Linked DNA regions of Homo sapiens: region 1 is linked to region 2. The links are contacts of gene promoters, found by promoter capture Hi-C in blood cells and fetal thymus (Javierre and others, 2016). All regions are on one chromosome and are shown on one strand. The core of a region is centred on a gene start or on the middle of the fragment in contact, and the rest is flanking DNA. Distances in the headings are between cores, read along the strand shown.

Region 1 (5,719 bases), core at 1,330-3,829, about 44 Mb after region 2:
GATGGCTATGATGGCAAGATACCATGGCATGTTTATTATTGATGGGAATGAGCCAGTAGAAAGAGGTTAAAAATACAAGAGCAAGAGAAGGGAATCCTGGATTTATAGAAAGCTTCCTTAGAAGGAAGAAGCCGGAGAACAAGTTAAAGGGTTGGCTTCAAATAGAAGCGAACTGCCTCAACTGAAATAAGCAAGAGTGAGGATGACTGAAAATATACCTTAGTTTGTAGATTCAGAGGTTTGAAGAATTGCCAAAATATGGGACAATGTCATCTGCCTAGAGCAAAGGAGTATATTGGAAGTTCTGAGGTTTGAAGAGAATGGAGTTTTTAAGTAGTAGTTTGGGGAAAGCATGCTGAATAGAGAAGGGCAGTAACTGGGCATGCTTCATTAAGAACCTGTATTCTGTCATGTGGGGCAGATTCTAAATATTTTCAGCTCTCTTACTGCAGGCAAGATAAAGGCAAAGGAGTAGGTATTAGAAGAGAGAGACAAACTTCTAGAGGGAACTAAATTTTTGAAGAGGATTGTCTTCCAACTGGGAAGAGAGGGAAAGCTTTTTGAGGGGAGTAGATCTGAGCTGGGCAAGAGAACACACTTGCTAGAGAAAGAAAATGGCCAGAGAGAGAAAAGGGGAGAAAAAAGTCTGGGGGAGATGGAGATAAAAGCAGAGTAGTGGGGGATTTCTGGCCTAGGTGCAGGAATGTCCTTTTATCTTCCAAAGTAAATGTGGTCACAGTAATATTAACAGTTTGTCATCTGATGTTGTGAAATTGTTTCCATATATTATTTAGACTCTCAGACCTGACAATCTATGGAGGAATTCCCAGGCATCTTTAGCTGCTACAGAGATGCATGAATGAAGGACAAGTATATTATCCTCCACACATTAGAAGAGAGGCTCCAGGGAGCAACAGGAGGCAAAAGTTCTTCTTTTCTTTTTTTTTTTTTTTTTTTTTGAGATAGTCTTGCTCTATCACCCAGGATGGAGTGCAGTGGCATGATCTTGGCTCACTACAACCTCCACCTCCCAGGCTCAAGTGATTCTCATGCCTCAGCCTCCCGAGTAGCTAGGGTTAAAGGCACATGCCACCACACCTAGCTAATTTTTTTTATTTTTAGTAAAGACTGGGTTTCACCATGTTGGCCAGGCTGGTCTTGAACTCCTGACCTCTAGTCATCTGCCTGTCTTGGCCTCCCAAAGTGCTGGGATTACAGGTGTGAGCCACACTGTGCCCGGCCAACATTTATCATTTGTGTTGAGACTATCCCAACCTTTCTCCTCTATTTTGAAATACAAAATAAATTATTGATTACTATAGTCACCCTACTGTGCTGTGGAACGCTACAACTTATTCCTTCTGTCTAACCATATTTTCGCTCCTTTTAACTTCTCTTCATCTCCTTCTCCCTCCTTATCCTTCCCAGCCTCTGGTAACCACAATTTTACTCTCTATCTCCATGGAGTCAACTTTTTTTTAGCTCCCACATATGAGCACCAAACTTCAATGTAAGACCCAAAACTATGCAGCTATTCCAAGAAAACGATTTGAGAAAATGCTTGAAAATGTTGGTCTGGGCAATGATTTTTTTTTTTTTTTTAATTAAGACTTTCTGAAGAAAAGGGCATACTTTTCACTGAAAAAGTTTGAGTTTTTTAAATGAGCAGATACTCATGCATTACTAGTGCAGCCAAAAATTATCAAAAGTAGGGAAGAATGCAAAATAGCGTGTGCCTCTTAACTAAAGAACTGTTAAGATACAAAACTTGGCTCTTTGCTGCCTTTCCCGCACTGCCAAGAGGGAAACATGAATTAGTTACATTGCCGTGGTGCTCACTGGGAGTTCGCTGTATGGACCAGATGGGTACTGCTCCGAATTTCCATTCAAGTCTGACATTCTTTTGTCAGCGTTTGTGTAACCGGTTTTCCTTGCATTCAGAGGAAAGACAGCATGGAAGTATGGATGGGAAGGTTGAGACGATTGGATACTGTATGGTAACCTCGATCGCAGCTCTCCTATGAGACTTGCTTCTTGGATTCTGAGTCACTTAAGCTTGCCCCTTCTCTTTCCTGACCCTCTTCCGTTTCCCCTTAGATTGGAGATTCTCCTCAGATTCTAAGTCTCTGAAATTATTAGTGTTGGCAGCCCCTGGGCCCATGGAGGGGTCTCAAGTCTTCAGTTCTCAAAGATCACCTTTTAAGCTTCATTCGGAACATGACACAGCCACACGAGTCCTAGCCCTGAATCTCACGAAGACCTCAGTACACCTGGAAAAGGCAGCACACCCAGTTACGACACTACTAGAGACGTCACACGCCTCAGCACCCATCCGCTCCCAGCCCAGAACGAGCGCACGCGCAGAACGAGAGAGCGGCCACCCAGGGATCGGCGCTATCTGCACAGCGGTTACAGTCTCGGAAAGGCCTGGCTTCTTCGTGGCTTTGTGGAGATCCCTTACAGCGGCCATTTGATTAGCACCCGAAGAGATTCAAAGGAAGCAGTTGTTCCGTCCCCAACATATTTCCGTTTCAAACCACCCACTTCCGGTTTTTCAGCCGGTTCCGGTCCCGCCCTTCACTTCCGGTCGCTTTCGGTCTCTCAGCGGCCGGTTTCTGCGTCCGCTGCCGCAGGTTCCACCGCGCTCCAGGTGAGGGGTTGCGGGGCACCCTGGCGCGCTGCCCTTGGAGACGCTGTTGGGGCTCGGGGACAGTGGCTTTGCGGCCCGCGCGGCGTGGCTTGCACTGCGGCGGGCTGGGGATAGTGTCTGTCCTAGTCTGACGCCCAGGCCCCTAGCCCCGGCCCGCTTAGTCGCGGGGGCCGCTGTCCTCCCATCCAGCAGTCTAGCCTATTTGGAGGGCTTTCTGTTTCCCAGTGGGTTTTGCGTCCCCAAACTTCATTCCTCCGTCTTCTCAGGCTTGTCCATCCCTCCCCTCAACCTCCTTGTTGAAGGCATCCCGGCCTTTTTGGTTCTGGAGCCTCCACCTGCCTCCTAATGCTCCCCTAAGTCAGTTAGCACAGCCCCCGACCCTGCACCACCTCGCAGTTGTTGCTGGTGTGCGGTTCTCGCCGGAGTTCTTAGTGCTTCACGGTTATCTTTTGCTGGGATTGTTGAAAGTTAACCTCCCGTTAATTCCCAAAGTGTTACTTTTACTGCTATACTTTAAAATTTCTTCATTTGCCACTTTTTAGGTTTGTGGTCCCGGGCAAGTTTAATTTCTTTTCAGGATTCTCATTTGTATAATGAGGACAACAGCTGTTGGTTCAGGATTGTGAAGCTTCAATGAGATAATTGTTTAGCATGTTTTTATTCCATCATGAACACCATTTGTATTGTGTTTTACAGTTTACAAAGTGCTGTCACAGGTGTTACTTCATACCTTAACACTACTCCTGTCCAGTGAATATTAGTAGCCTCATCTTGTTGAGAAGACTGAGGCCAAGAGGTGGATTGACTAGGCAAAGTCAACACAGTATGTTAGGTAGAACTCCAACCTAAACAGCTATTCTTGACCCTAGGTTGACCATATGGAAGTGTATTCTTTGCTTGCTTGTTTGGGTTTGCCAACTTCACTCCTCCCCACACCCCAAATCATTTTTCAGCTTATAAATCTGATGGGATCTGAAATGATACAAAATACTAAGAAAGAAGGTTAAATGTGAAAGCAAAATAGCTCATGCATTTATATCACACTGCTTCATTGGTGTGAACGGTCTTAATGATGAAATAAGGTTCAGTAACTTTTAAACAAATCTTAAAGACATATGCATTTACAATTTTTATGGTGTTTGTTTCGCTTGGCCCTTTAAGGCATTTGCCAACTTGGAATTTCCACTTGTGGGATAGGTGCTTCGTAACGTTTTTATGCTGCTTTATTAACCATATAGAGCCCATGCCCTCTGGCACATTTTTTTTAAGGCTGAAAACATTGAAGAGCCTGTAGTACTGACTCTCAAATTTGAGCATTCATCAGAGGTGAGGAGGACTGACCTTGTTAAAACACAGATTCCTAGGTCCCTTCTCTCCACCCCAATTACATTTCTACCAAATTACCAAGTGAGGTCAATGCTGTTCGTTAGCCCAGGGACCATGCTTTGAAAACCACTAGTCTAGAAGAGCAATCACTTGTCCAGGGTCACCTGGAACTCAGATGATTTCACTCCAAACTCTGCACTACTACGCATCACAATATATGCGATATTAGTGCTGGTTGCCTTTCTAGCTCTCGTAGGATTCCCTTTTATTCTTATGTCTTACAGAAAATATTTAAACTGTATTTCAGTTTAACTCAAAAGGTCCACTTTTAATTGAAGAATATAACATTTGTTATAGTTCTGTCTAAAATGGAATACGTTACCCTAAATTAAGACACTTGCTTTACATTTTCAGTAGAACACATTGTAAACATAGGAGTAAATATACATTTATAGTTCATATTTGTATTCATATATGAGTAAATATAAATATGAATTTATGGCTCTCTCTTCTAATTGGCCTTTTAGTAGGAGACACTGTTTTTAAATTATTTTTGGAAGTGGAGATTAAAAATTTAACCTCTTTCTTGCAGTTGGTCCTAATAGTTGCATGAAGAGTGCAATCAAATGTTTCATCAAATAAGTGAAAGCATTGGAAATACCAATACCTTGAGATTAGAAAATCCAGTTCTCTGGACTGTGGGAGGAATGAGTTTAATGAAAAATAGAAAGCTTTATGCAGGAAGAGACATATGTTTGGTTATTTACATGAGTGGCAGCCACTATATAATCTTTGTGTGCTTAGATCTGTACCCATGGGTTTTGTATTTTCTGATTGATATGGTTTGGCTGTGTCCCTACCAAAATCTCAACTTGAATTGTATCTCCCAGAATTCCCACTTATTGTGGGAGGGACCCAGTGGGAGGTAATTGAATCATGGGGGCCGATTTTTCCCGTGCTATTCTTGTGAATAAGTGAATAAGTCTCATGAGATCTGATGGATTTATCAGGGGTTTCCGCTTTTCTGTCTTCCTCATTCTCTCTTGCCACTGCCATGTAAGAAGTGCTTTTTACCTTCTGCCATGATTCTGAGGCCTCCCTAGCCATTGTGGAACTGTAAGTAGCTGGGATTACAGGCGCCCACCACCACCTCTGGCTAATTTTTTTTTGTATTTTTAGTAGAGATGGGGTTTCACCACATTGGCCAGGCTGGTCTTGAACTCCTGACCTAAGGTGATTCACCTGCCTCAGCCTCCCAAAGTTCTGGGATTACAGGCATGAGCCACTGTGGCCAGCCTTGGGTATGTCTTAGCAGCATGAAAACAGACTAATACGGTAAATTGGTACTAGTAGAGTGGGGCATTGCTGAAAAGATACCCGAAAACGTGGAAGCAACTTTGGAACTGGGTAACAGGCAGAGGTTGGAACAGTTTGGAGGGCTCAGAAGAAGACAGGAAAATGTGGGAAAGTTTGGAACTTCCTAGAGACTTGTTGAATGGCTTTGCCCAAAATTCTGATAGCTATATGAACCATAAGGTCCAGGCTGAGGTGGTCTCAGATGGAAATGAGGAACTTGTTGGGAACTGGAGTAAAAGTGACTCTTGTTATGTATTAGCAAAGGTACTGGCAACATTTTGCCCCTGCCCTAGAGATTTGTGGAACTTTGAACTTCAGAAAGATGATTTAGGGTATCTGGCAGAAGAAATTTCTAAGCAGCAAAGCACTCAAGAGGTGATTTGGGTA
Region 2 (5,314 bases), core at 2,134-4,633:
ACTTGTATCATTTTTATAAAAGATCACACAATCTACAGCAAATATGCTCAGTAACTATATAGTGCCCCATAATTGTGTGGTTTAACCTTTCTGAAAGGCAGACACTATCACAACTGCAAATGTACATTCACTTTGATTTAGCAATTCTGAACACAGGTATTTATACTACAGTTATTCTCACACAAGCGTGAAAAGACACATTTTTGTTCAAGAATGTTCACAGCAGCATTGTTTATATTAGCAAAGTACTGGATGTGACCTAAATATCAACCAATAGAGACTAGATAAATTATGTACATTCATACAATGAAATACTGTATAGCCACAAAACAGAATGAGGTAGCTATGTGTGTTGGAGTTGAATGACATCCAAGGTTAGAAAAATAAATAAAGATAAAAAAGTATGTAATCAACCACTAGACGGAGGGCTACACAAACAAGCATGCTTGTACATAGACAAGTATGCTTGTATTTGCATAGACCAACTCTAAAAGGACACATAAAAAACTGTAAATAGTGGTTGTCAGCGCATTAGAGATCTAGAAATCAGGAATAAGACTTTTTATTCAAATGTAAACCAACAATGTAAACCAATTTACACTGTTTGATTTTTTTTAACATGTCTATATGCTACTTTTAAATTTTAATGGCTTTTAAAAATTAGGTAGTGAATTATTTTGCTGTCGTATAAATAGATTCGTGTAAGGGAAGTTAAGGTTTTCAAGTATCAAAATTATGCTATCAAGGCAGTTGCTTTTAAGGGTTAAAAAAATTCTAAACTACTTTTTGCTGCTTTTAGTTTATTACAATCAACAAAAATTATACACAATCAAAAACCGGAGCCCTTCTTCTGGACAAAGGTGTTTACACTGTTGCTAGCCAACAAATCCACATCTGTTTAATCTAGTCCTTGTTCTTCACTCTCAGTATTGAAGCAGTTTTAAAAATGTGTTTTCTCTCTTGCTATATTTAATGCATGTTCTTATAAAAGGATTATCTATTGACCACAAACAAATATAGAATAAGGGAACAGATTTGCTCCTTTCCACTGATATTAATCCTTCCAGGTCAGTTTAGCCTAGCCTTCTCTGACAGAAAAAGTGAAATGACTGCCTAGAACAAACAAGACCATGACTCAATAAATATAGTAATTTCTACTCCAAGGTTGTTCTAAAAAAAAAAAAAACAAAACAAAAAGCTAAGAAAAATGTATTACATTTAACCATATTCCCAAGTAGATTAAGCATAAGCCTAAAGGCTCAGATCAGCTACCACTAACATGCTCTGTAACTCTGGGGAACCCATTTCCCAAGAATTTTAAGTTACTCCAAATAAGAGAGAAAATACTGCTTAACAGAGTAACAGAAGTCTTTTATCACACTTTTTCAATCTATTACCAAACATCATAGAAACACTCAACAAAGTCATACTGGAAGACTTACCTAATCAAAACAGGTCTGTCAATGCTGGTTTACTCAACACCAGTGCTTATAATGATGTATCAAACTTCCTGAAAATAAGTGGTAGACATTTAGAAAAACAAAGAAGCTGAACTCACCTTTGACACTTTTTCTATTAACATCTGCCCCCTTTTCAAGTAAATACTGAGCAATCTCTTTATGTCCTTTGTAACATGAAATCATCAAGCACGTATGCCCATGTCGGTTTGACACTTCCAAATCAGCTTTGTGTTCTACAAGGTACTTCACTATTTCCAAATGGCCATCGAAACACGCAGCTCGAAGAGGAGTTGAATTGGTTAAAGTCGTGTTGTTGACAGATGCTCCATGATTTAACAAGGACTGGACCACCTTCAGATGTCCTGCTGCAGAAGCGGCCCATAAAGGGGGAGCCCCCTCAATGGTTTCGCCATCAAAATTGACGGAGCCCCCAACTTCTATGGAGGCACTGCATTGCTCTAGGAGGAATTCCACCATGTCAAGGTGCCCATACCTGGCGGCCATCAAGAGTGGCGTGGCCCCATTTGTTTTTTCAGAGATCAAGGAGGAAACCTCCTCTTTGGATTTGCTTGCCAACAATTTGGTGAGAAGCCGGAGTTTGCCATCCCGAGCTGCGTTAAATACTGCTGTCTTTAGATCCATTTATGTCCAGTTGAGAGGCTGTGCTTTATTTATCTTTCAAAGCAGAGCTCCAGTTTAACTCTATCGACACAGGCAAGAGTCACAGGAACCAAAGTCCAATGTTAATTGCTGCACCCCAGAACGGATACACAACCACGAAGAGTATGTTCCGTCCTACTGCTTTCCAACATCTGACAACCAGGGCACCAAACTAGAGAAAGAAAAAAAAAGTAGCAGCATTTAATTTTCTATAGAAGAAGGCAAAACACTTCTTAATTTCCACTTCTGTGGGAAGAAAGGAATAAAAGCTATACTTCAGGCACTACTCCATCCCACACACCCCCCCCACCCCCAAAGAAAAGGTGGTAAAGAAAAATACAGAAGGATACACAGAGACCCAAATGTTCTGGTCGCAGGCAGTCTCCTCCATGTGCGGAAAATTTAAACACTACAGGCAGCCCGTTTTCTCGCCTCCAGCTCTAACCAGCCAAGCTTTGTTCTAGTTTTGCTTTGCACACGCCCAGGGAGAGTACAACCGAAAGAGGCAGGAGACTCGGGTTCAGAAATGTTTCTCTTTCTTGCAACTGCAGGAGAGCTGGCCAAGGGCGCCAGGCTGGAAGGCCTGAGGCCGGGTTTCGAGAAAGAACAAAAAGGTCGGACACACCAAACCCCGGCTAAGGCCAAAACTGTGCCCCGAAAGATTCTCTTTCCTTTAAAACTACTCACGGCTCTCAGGAAATCCGCCTGCCTTTTAGTCATTAACTTCGCCCGCCCCATTTCGATCACCCCCCACCCCCCGCCAAGGGATGATCCGCAGGTTCCTCAAACCACAGTCGCCCCAACACAACCTTCCCCTCTCCCTGTTCCAGACAACGGCAGCCCCCTCCCAATCTCCTCCATCGACCACAACCCCCTCCCGATGGGCCAAGCTGTGGCCTCCAGCCCGCTGCCCGCCTTCGGCTCCCCCGGCGCCCTCCTTCCCGCCCAGGCCTTCCGCGGGCACCTCAGGCCCCGGCCCGAGCCCTGGCAGGCCGCTGCCGCCGCCACTACCTGCCCGGGGACTAGTCCTCCCCGCCGCCGCTGGTCACTCGGGCTTTGTCCGTCCCCTTCAAAGGGAAACCGTTGTCCCCACCGCCGCCCGGGCCGCCCTGCTCCGCCTGCGGCCGCACAGCTCCTCCATGCTCCGCGCCCCAAAGGAATGAATCCGGCCGCGCTGTTCGCCACGCCCCGCCACCCGAGCTGCCTCCCGCCCTTAGTCGGCTCGGACTGCAGCGGCTGCAGCGACTGCTGCGACGGATGGTGTAATGGGCTGCGAGCCGGGGGCCGGACAAGCCTGAGCGTCACATCACTGACTGTGCCGCCACGCCATTGGGCCGGGGGAGGGCGGCGGCCGCGGCCAGCAACAGCCTAGGCGCGGGGCGGGGCGTCGCGGCCGGGGTGGGGCGACGGGGAGGGGGCGGGGCCTGAACTACTGGGAGGACGTGCCTGCGTGCAACGCGCTGGGGGGCGGGGCGCTGCGAGGGGGCGGATCTGTGCCCATCGAAGCGGCCCGAGGCAGCTCGAGTTCTGAGATCTCGCTGGCTCTTCTCCTCTCGGATTTTCGGGGTGCTCCCTTAGGGAATCTTTCGGTCCCATCTCAGAGACCCCAGAAGGGAAGTGTATTAGTGCGTTTTCACGCTGCTGATAAAGACATACCCGAGATTGGGTAATTTATAAAGATAAAAAGATTTAATGCACTCAGAGTTCCACGTGGCTGGGGAGGCCTCACAATCAAGCCAGAAGGGGAAAGGCACGTCTTACATGGCAGCAGGCAAGAGAGGAAAATCAGAGCCAAGGAAAAAGGGAAACCCCATATAAAACAATCAGCTCTCCTGAGACGTACTCACTACCACCAGAGCAGCATGGGGGAAACAGCCTTCTTGATTCAATTATCTCCCACTAGGTCCCTCCCACAATATGTGGGAATCATGGGAGCTAAAATTCAAATTTGGGTGCGGACCAGTATTACCCTCACACACGTGAAGTCTCTCGGACTAGTCTTCCGTCCTTACTTTGGTGGGCCCTGGAAATTACCAAGCTCGTAATTACACCTCAGAACACACACGGAGGAAACTGAAATTTCAGAAAATGTGATTAGTTTTGGAGGCTGTCAAACTGACTCTCTTTCTAAAGTAGCCTCTAAAAAGCATAAAGGCTACGAGGAATGGTAAACCCTAAGAGCAATGTAAAGTCAATGAGGTCAGGTTCTTGAGCTCTGAGTAATAAATCGGGAACTAAAGCTTAAAAGGTTATATATATGAATGAAAAGAATTACTTCTTCATATAGTAGTTGATAAACCTCTGGAATTTGATGCTAAAACCTACGTTGCATTAAACTAGGATGAAAAAGTTTAAATGTGTTTGGGAAATAACGCCCATAATGAATCCTGATGAGAAAACAGAATTTTTGAAAATGGACCTTCAATCACTTTGTTTGAGGGAACTTAAGCTCACATAATTCCTTAGTACCACTAGGAGAAATAGAATATTACAGTAGGCAGTCTGACCCTCAGCATATGTAATCCATAACGTTATGTTAGAAGTCATGCAGCACTAAAAACATTTATAAAAAATCACAACTTCATTTTTGTATATTGTAGTGTTGTTCAGAAGTTTATGTAGTTTTGCATAATTGAAATAATTTTCATACAACTATATATTTTGCTTTTCCTTTCTATACTCTAAACGTTTCTTATGTTTTTACAGTCTTAATAATTTTTAAGTATAGCATAGTATTTCCCTTAGGTAGTCAGTATCAGACTACACTCAACATCAGATTCCCAAAACTGAAGTTAAGGTAATTGCCACTGAGAAGAAAATATAAAAGAATAGAGTATAAAGGATAAGATTGACCATCCATAAAAATTAACCAGCCAAGAGGACTGGCTGTTTTATCCCCAGCATATGTCACAGTTCTATACTCTCCCAGGGTACAGATAACAGTGTACAGTGTCCCAACCAAGGCCTAACCTGAGCTGACCTGTCTCTCTCACCTAATTCAATAAGATGTAAACATTCACATCAGCCATCTTCAAACTGAGCTCTGTATCCCTCATGGGATTGTTAAGGGATAGACGGACACTTAGTTTAAAGGCTACCAATTTCTGCTGTGGCTCACACCTGTAATCCCAGAACTTTCGGAGGCTGAGACAGGCAGATTGCTTGAACCCAAGAGGTCGAGACCAGCCTGGACA

The links. Contacts are between HindIII fragments. The CHiCAGO score rates a contact against its expected background, and 5 or more counts as called.
Region 1: a contact is called between the fragment with the promoter of UBLCP1 here and the fragment with the promoter of FEM1C in region 2, in 1 of 17 cell types (fetal thymus). The highest score is 22.8, in fetal thymus.

The regions. Positions count from the first base shown.
Region 1 is chr5:159,260,711-159,266,429 of GRCh38, forward strand. UBLCP1 (ubiquitin like domain containing CTD phosphatase 1) reads left to right here and starts at 2,580. Exons shown (of 11, transcript NM_145049.5): 1 at 2,580-2,650. RefSeq lists enhancers at 1,805-2,312, 2,147-2,216, 2,247-2,556, 2,313-2,820. The HindIII fragment of the contact is 1,074 bases long and covers 2,203-3,276 here.
Region 2 is chr5:115,541,392-115,546,705 of GRCh38, forward strand. It overlaps FEM1C (fem-1 homolog C), which reads right to left and starts at 3,384. Exons shown (of 3, transcript NM_020177.3): 1 at 3,132-3,384; 2 at 1,559-2,292. The coding sequence starts at 2,102. RefSeq lists enhancers at 2,933-3,699, 3,241-3,535 and silencers at 2,965-3,134, 3,185-3,234, 3,335-3,674. The HindIII fragment of the contact is 1,787 bases long and covers 2,572-4,358 here.